Linked DNA regions of Homo sapiens: regions 1 and 3 are each linked to region 2. The links are contacts of gene promoters, found by promoter capture Hi-C in human tissues and cell types (Jung and others, 2019). All regions are on one chromosome and are shown on one strand. The core of a region is centred on a gene start or on the middle of the fragment in contact, and the rest is flanking DNA. Distances in the headings are between cores, read along the strand shown.

Region 1 (2,746 bases), core at 39-2,538, 710 kb after region 2:
GTACAGAATTTTAATAAATCCTACGAAACCTAAAGATTAATTGCAATGGGATGATACTTTGGCAGTTTGTGATTTTAAAAACAGATATAAATCCTGACATGCTCATGGGCAAATGCATTATTGGACTTCGAAACACATACTTAGGAAGGCAGATCTGTACTTCCAATATCTAGATCCTTCCAAAGAATCCATGAATCAGAGGAGCCAAAGGCTAAAACCCACAGAATCTGGAAATAGATCAGAGTGGAGGGAAAGAAATGGGAAGCACTATACCTACCCGCATTCTCTCTCTTCTCAAACAGTCTAAGAATCCTAAAAACGTTTTGTGCAGAGAATAGCGACCTCATGTGGAGCCAGTTATGAGGGAAAGAAAACCCCTGCTTTTCAGCTGGCCTACTGTAGACCGCGGAATCACTGCCTGCACTGCCCTCTGGTGGGCAGCTGACCATCCACTTTCACACCAATTTTTTAAGAGGTAACTTCCAGAAAGGCCTTGTTTCTACTCGTTCTTATTTCCTTCCTATTGAATATATCAACACTGTATATCCTCAGCCTTTGTTACATTTAATAGTATGCTTCAAAATGGACCTCAGCATTTTGGGGATTAAAAATTTCCCTAAAGTTTCCCTCCACTAAATTTTTCTCCACTGTTGATTTTTTTCCCAATTTTTAATTTAAAAAAATCTTCAAAGACAACAGAACAGTACAACGAACACCCATATACCCTTCATCTAGACTCACCAACTGTTAACATTTTGTTGCATTTGTTTTCTCCCTCCCCCACTCCTGATAGATGCTTTCTTCCTCTGAACCTCTGGAAATGAGTTGCAGGTATCGTAACACATAATCATAATATCATCAATACAATATATATGTACAATTTATATTCCAATTTTCCCCCCATCTCCCTATAATACCCTCTATAGCTGGATTTGATAAAGCCAGAATCTAATCAAGGATCATGTACTACCTATCTTTATGTAAAGTTATGTTACATCTTTTTAAATCTTTTAATCTAGAATAGTTCATCAGGCTTTGTTTTTCATGACTTCCCCATTTTTAAAGAGCCTACTTTTTTTTTTTTTTTTTTTTTTTGAGATGGAGTCTCACTCTGTCACCCAGGCTGGAGTGCAGTGGTGTAATCTTGGCTCACCAGAACCTCTGCGTCCTGGCTTCCCAGGTTCAAGCAATTCTCCTCCCTCAGCCTCCCAAGTAGCTGGGATTACAGACGTGCACCATGACACGTGGCTAATTTTTTTTGTTGTTGTTGTATTTTTAGTAGAGACAGGGTTTCGCCATGTTGGCCTGGCTGGTCTTGAACTCCTGACCTCAAATGATCCACCTGCCTTGGCCTCCCAAAGTGCTGGGATTACAGGCATGAGCCACCATGCCTGGCCCCAAGCCCACATTTTTTTACATACATTTTCTTGGTGTTTCTATTGATGTCACTCATTGGACCACTGACTAGTAAATGCCTCATATGTGTCAGGCACTAGGCTCGATGCCTGAGGAAAAAGATAAACTGAAGATATATTTTGGATATATAACTTACTGGTAGATGGGATCAGGAAGGAGAGTAATAGATCCAATTACCTTTAAGCAGATAGCTAGATGATGGTGCCACTTACTGATGTCGAGATGACTGGAGAAGAAACAGGTTTGAAGGGAAACCAAGAGTTCTGTTCACAACATGCCCAGAGAGGCCAAGTGAGAACTCAGTGGGTAAAAGAGCTCAGTGGGTGCCATCAGCATGTATGCAGCATTTAAAGCCATGGGACTGGGTTAAACCTACTAGAGAGAGTAGGGAGAGTGACGAGAGCCCAAAAAAGCTAGCCTGAGGAACTCCATTATTTAGAGGCTGGATACGGAGAAGGAACCAGCTGAGAAGATTGGGAGGAATGGCTGGTGAATGAGAAAACCCCAGCACGAGGTGGACTCGTCAAAGCAAAGAAAGATCATCTGGGAAAGGAGAAAGCAGTCACATCAGATGCTGCTGAGAAGTCAAGTCGATAAGGACAGAGCATCTGATGACAGGCGCTTGTGAGTGGCCCTTCTGTGGGCAGTCTCAGGGACAGAGAGGGGGCAAGATCCACAACAGAGATGTCTGAGGTGCAAAACAGGTAGAATCCTGGATAAAGATGGAGGAGTGGACACCTCTGGTCCTCCCAAACATCTTACTAAAACCATAGTAAAGTTTTTTATGTTTGTTTTTAGGCTCAAGCCCCAAGAGCAAAAGGAGGAACAAAGAAGATAAAGGAGAAAAATAAAAACCATTTGAAACTGAAAAGCATGTGTAACAAAGCTGACTCCTAAACTGGCAATGGTAAAGTCAAGAAGCAATCCAATTTACACAATAGAACCTCCAAAAGGCTTGGGAATTTGAAGCCCCTGATACCTCTGTAGTGTCAGAAGAAGATAAAAAGAAGAGAGCACAAAAAGAAGTTAGCACAGCTTCTGAAAAGAAAAAAAAACAAGCTTCAAACTAAAGATCAAGAACAGAGTAACATTAGAAGCTCTCAGCAACAATGCTGGAAGGTGGAAGAGAATGACATAAGGCCTTCAAAACTCTAAAGGAAAATTCATTCCAATCCTTAATTCAGTATTTATTTTATCAATCAAACCTGAGGGTGGCATAGGACATTTTTAGATACTCATGGGCTTAAAAAAAAAATGAACTTCTATGAACCCTTTCTCATGAAGTAATTAAAGGAAGTACTCTACCAAAACGAGGCCATAATCAAGAAAC
Region 2 (2,700 bases), core at 182-2,681:
GGCGGGCGCCTGTAGTCCCAGCTACTAGAGAAGCTGAGGCAGGAGAATGGCATGAAACCAGGAAGCAGAGCTTGCAGTTAGCTGAGATAGAGCCACTGCACTCCCGCCTGGGTGACAGAGCGAGACTCCATCTCAAAAAAAAAAAAAAAAAAAAAAAAGAGCTTGAGCCTTGACGTCAGATATCCAGACTGGATTTTACCATTTAAGAGACCCTGGACCCTTCCTTACTGTCTTGGAGCCTCAATGTACTCATATACAAAATGGGGATAGTGATAATAGTACCTACTTCATAGGGTGGTTGTGATATATGATGTCATACATGTGTCTAGCACATGGTTAATGCTACATATACATTATTGAAAATATTATTGTCACTAATTTGACACATCACACTGCCTCCCTGGAAACAAACTTGTTAACTGTGCCTCATGCCTAGAGCTCAGTAGACACTCATCAAATATTGAATCCCTTCTTTGAATATGTGGGCTAAATCAGGGATCCCAAATCCCCAGGCCACAGACCACTACCAGTCCGTGGCCTGTTAGGAACTGGCCTCACAGCAGGAGGTGAGCCGTGGGTGAGCAAGCAAAGCTTTGTCTTCATTTATACCCACTCCCTATCATTTGCATTACTGCCTGAGCTCTGCCTCTTGTCAGATCAGCTGAGGCACTAGATTCTTATAGGAGCACAAACCTACTGTAAACTGCGCACACAAGGGATCCAGTTTGTGTGCTCTTTATGAGAATCTAATGCCTGATGATCTGTCACTGCCTCCCATTACTTTCAGAGAAAACCATCTAATTGCAGGAAAACAAGCTCAGGGCTCCCACTAATTCTACATTATGTTGAGTTGTATAATTATTTCATTATATATTACAACGAATAATAATAAAAATAAAGTGCACAGTAAATGTAACACACTTGAATCATCCTGAAACCATCTCCCCATCCCCAGTCTGTGGAAAAATTGTCTTCCATGAAACCAGCCCCTGGTGCCTAAAAGGCTGGGGACTGCTGGGCTAAAGAATCATGTGGTTCTATCCTAGATTATCTCCTGAATAGTGTTTCCAGCTCCAATCAATCAACAACATTACTCAGCCCTCACCCCCTCCTTCCTGCTTCCCCCACCAGCTGACCCAGCAGAGCCAGGCACCCGGCTAACTGTGGGCAGCCAAACGAGGTTGGAAGTTGGACAGGCTCACCCATTATTCACCATACCTACAAATCAGCTGGAGAAAGCCCAGGCTGGCGGCCAGACAGAGGGCTCGTGGGCCAGAAAGGGAAGGGCTTGGCAGAGACAGCGCCATGGAGATGACAGGTTGAGGTCACTTGCTCCTTTCTCCGGGGCAATGGGTGACAGAGACAGCCATGCAGGCCAATGGAAAGGAAGACCAGGGGGAATGTCCTGAATCAAGTCACCAATGGGAATCAGTTTCGCTTTCTCTCTGTCTCTCAGGGCATGAGACCAGCCAGGCACTGGGAAACAAGGTTTGGTGCCAGAGATTTTGGTGGCTTCCAAGACTGCTTTTTCAGAGACAGGTACTTGAATTCTTGCTTTCAGCTGAGGGGTCGTTCCGTCCATGCTCTGGGAGTTTGGGAGTGTGTCTGAATAGGGTCAGGGGACAGTGATGGACAGGCCACTGTGCCAGGACACACCACATTGCTCGCTCACTCCTCCTCCCTGGCAGCTGGTTATTCTTAGCCACAGATTGCTTGCCCTTTCAACTTAGTTTATTAGAGCTGTTTTGAGAGAGTTGCTGGACATGGGAGGCTGATGTGAAACAGCGAAGTCAATAAGGTCACTGGTGGCTGCAGGACAGCTCTACTCAAGCTGGCCCCCACCAGACTGCTCTGGCCTGGGCCCGTTCCCTTCTCTTCCCTCAGCCCTGGCAGGCCCACTCTCTCTCAGCTGACCAGCCCACTGTACAGCAATCAAATTAACGTATCAAATTAGCACAGAAATGCATAGACTGCTCGAGGAATAGGAATATCACACTAAACTTCATTGGAGGGCTTTAAAGTCTCATAGTGCGAGAATCTTCAGAACTGGAAGAGAAAGCAGAGGCCACTAACAACCAAGCCCACGTTTTTCCTGCCAACAGCCCTTGCTGAGGAAGCTGCCCAGCCTTCCAGAGGAAAGGTGAACCTCTGTGTGTGGGTGGCCATGGTTTGTACCATGTGGCCCAGTACCCTGATTACTGTGCTTTGGACAGAGAAGGGCAACTATGCCAAGGGCACATTCAGAGGCTGGTTTAGCCCAGCAAGTTGGCCTGGTGCTAGAATTTTGTCCAACAGGGGATGCAATGACCAACTGGTACAACTGCATTTTCTCTCTCTGGAGTTTAAACCTGAGCCATACAGAAAGAGTCAGAGCAGGAACAGATGGGGAAAGCCAAAAACAGGGAAGCAAAGGCAGGCGGGGATGCTGACAGTGGAGCAAGGCTCCGTGGGTGAGGGGTGGGACAGAGGGTGCCAGCCTCAGGACACCTGGCCCGGGCTCCGGGATGTCTGTCCCCTGCATTTCCATTCAGACTCTCCCAAGGAGCCCCCTTTATGAGACCGCCTCACTGGGTCTCTCTTATTTACCACCCAAAGGAGCAAGTAATCCATCTGTTCTGTGTTACAGATGAGGGAGTGGAGGCTAGGAGACCACGGACTGCTCCTCAGGTTACAGAACCTGTCCAGGACAGACAGGGGGCC
Region 3 (2,747 bases), core at 1-2,500, 570 kb before region 2:
TTGTAGTGAGCAGAGATCATGCCACTGCACTCCAGCCGGGCGACAACAGGACTCCGTCTCAAAAGAAGGAAAAAAGAAAAACTGGTGCTAATCAAATATGTCTGTCATTTGATTAACATGAGTGAATCGGTGTTAATTTATTAGTTTTGATCATTGCATTACGGTTATGCAAGATGTAACATTAGGGGAAGCCAGGTGAAGGGTATATGGGAATTCTGCATTATTTTTGCACTTTTCTGTAAATCTGTATTTCAAAATAAAATATATATGCTATGGTTACAACTATGCAAGGACATTCAATACAAATGAAAAAAACAGACCAAAAGAAAGAAATTAAAATATTAATAACTGTAAGGAATTTTAATATCTTTTTAAAAAGTTTTTGTTTTCCAAATCTTCCATAAAGTGGTTACTTTTATAATGAAACAAAATCATTTAAAATACAGTAAAAGAAATCATGACTTACTTTTTATATAGTACACCGTATGGTTTTTTCAGTGCATACTGTAAAACAAAATTTATAGCTTTCAAAACAAAACACATTCTGAAAAGCAGAAATAAAAATAAAGCATCATAACAGTCACTCTCCAAGATTGCTCTGGGGCCTCAATCTTATTCTGAGGGCTTCTGCCTGGCTCCCTTTTCATCACTTACAGTAACTTGAAATGTAAGCTTAATATTCTTGGACTAGACTTTCCTATTTAAAAGTTTCTATGCCCTGTCAATAGTCTATCCAACTTAAACAATTTCCTTCATTTCTTTAAACTCGACTTAGTCCAGTCTCTCTCTAGGGAAACAATTCCAGGTGCAGTGGCTCACGCCTGTAATCCCAACACTTTGGGAGGACAAGGCAGATCACTCAAGCCCAGGAGTTCGAGACCAGCCTGGGCAACATGGCAAAACCCTGTCTCTACAAAAAACTGCAAAAATTAGCCAGGCATAGTGGTGCATGCCTGCAGTCCCAGCTACTTGGGAGGCTAAGGCGGGAGGATCACCCGAGCTCAGGAATTCGAGGCTGTGGTGAACCGTGATTGCACCACTGCACTCCAGCTCTGGTGATAGAGTGAGACCCTGTCTCAGAAAAAAAAAAAAAAAAAGTAGTAGACAAAAACAGAAAAAATAAATTCTATCACGAAAGGCTGACAGATTGAAATAATGTTGCGTGGAGATCAGAAAACTTAGAAACAGTAATAATGATGACAATTAGAATACTAGCCAGAGGTTAAACACAGCTCTTTAAAAAATGCCTATTATTCAATGTTCTTCATTTTTTTCCTAGTTCTACCTATCCACAAATAATCATTCATTTTATTTTATTTATTTATTTTTGAGACAGGGTCTCACTCTGTTGCCCAGGCTGGAGTGCAATGGCGTGATTAAAGCTTACTGCAGCCTGAAACTCCAGGGCTCAGGTGATCCTCCCATCTCAGCCTCCCAAGTACAGACACATGCACCACGCCCAGCTAATTTTTGTATTTTGAGTGGAGATGGGGTTTCACCATGTTGTCCAGGCTGTATTTTATTATTTTTTTAAATTTAATTTATAGAGATGGGGTCTCACTTTGTTGTCCAGGCTGTCATCCTAGGCTTAAGTGATCCTCCCACCTCAGCCTCCCAAAGTGCTGGGATTACAGGTGTGAGCCACCACACCTGGCCTATAATCATTTATTACTTGTATGGCCAGTACTGCTCTACCATAGAGAATAACAAAGATGTCATCAGGTACTACCTTGCATTAGAGAAATGGGTAAATGAGGGAAACAATGAAAAATAAGGTATAATAATCATTCATCAACTATCAGAGTTGGTGAACAAAGAAAATGCAACAGTAAAATCTACCTTTTTAAGTACTAAAACTTTTGATGATTCTTGGCCAACTATTTCCCTGTTTCCGTGTAATAAACATTGCCACCTCTTCTTGATGACTCAGAGTCATCATGATGAATTTTAATTATTGTAGTAATCTGTAATATTGTGCTGCTTTTAAAGCTTACTTAAATATGCAGGGTCATTGTGCTGATGGATACTAGAAGGAGAGGGGCAGTTTCCCGTTAGCACAATGAAATTCAGACAAACATTTCAAAAAAGGGATGGGCCTATATAAGGCATTCAGACATCTGAATTGACTATGCTTATCAGGCATAGAGTTTGGTCAAGTTTAAAATATATTCAAAGCCAGGCATGGTGGCTCACTCCTGTAATCTCAGCACTTTGGGAGGCCGAGGCGGACAGATCATGTCAGGTCAGGAGTTTGTGACCAGCCTGGCCAACATGGTGAAACCCTGTCTCTACTAAAAGAACACAGAAATTAGCTGGGTGTGGTGGCTCCCAGCTACTTGGGAGGCTAGAGGCAGGAGAATCGCCTGAACCCGGGAGTCAGAGGTTGCAGTAAGCCAAGATGGCACCACTGCACTTCAGCCTGGGCAACAGCGTGAGACTCCACCTCAATAACAACAACAAAAATGTATTCGATTACTTAATTGATTTAATTCAAAGATCTATTGGCTGTACTCAAGGCCTAATTAGTCAAATAACCTACTAGATATCTCCACATACTATGTCTTTTTTTTTTTTTTAGTTGGAGTCTTGCTCTGTTACCCAGGCTGGAGTAAGTGCAATGGCGTGGTCTCAGCTCACTCCAACCTCCATCTCCCAGGTCCAAGCAGATTTTCCGGCCTCAGCCTCCCTAGTAGCTGGGATTACAGGCGCCCACCACCATGGCTGGCTAATTTTTGCATTTTTAGTAG

The links. The method cuts DNA at HindIII sites, captures the fragments that hold promoters and counts their contacts. A contact is called where the count stands out against the background at its distance.
Region 1: a fragment that was not itself captured here is called in contact with the fragment with the promoter of DDO in region 2 in 1 of the 25 tissues and cell types used here (H1 embryonic stem cells).
Region 3: a contact is called between a fragment that was not itself captured here and the fragment with the promoter of DDO in region 2, in 1 of the 25 tissues and cell types used here (dorsolateral prefrontal cortex).

The regions. Positions count from the first base shown.
Region 1 is chr6:109,703,025-109,705,770 of GRCh38, reverse strand. The region is part of intron 1 of FIG4 (FIG4 phosphoinositide 5-phosphatase); the gene reads right to left. Among named protein-coding and RNA genes, the nearest start is that of FIG4, 13 kb to the right of the region's middle. The HindIII fragment of the contact is 4,656 bases long and covers 1-2,746 here.
Region 2 is chr6:110,414,306-110,417,005 of GRCh38, reverse strand. DDO (D-aspartate oxidase) reads left to right here and starts at 1,431. Exons shown (of 5, transcript NM_001372108.2): 1 at 1,431-1,539. LOC105377936 (a long non-coding RNA gene) reads right to left here and starts at 1,362. Exons shown (of 2, transcript XR_942856.2): 1 at 1,219-1,362. The HindIII fragment of the contact is 14,658 bases long and covers 1-2,700 here.
Region 3 is chr6:110,986,785-110,989,531 of GRCh38, reverse strand. It overlaps RPF2 (ribosome production factor 2 homolog), which reads right to left. Exons shown (of 10, transcript NM_032194.3): 3 at 467-504. Among named protein-coding and RNA genes, the nearest start is that of RPF2, 6.1 kb to the right of the region's middle. The HindIII fragment of the contact is 4,760 bases long and covers 1-2,747 here.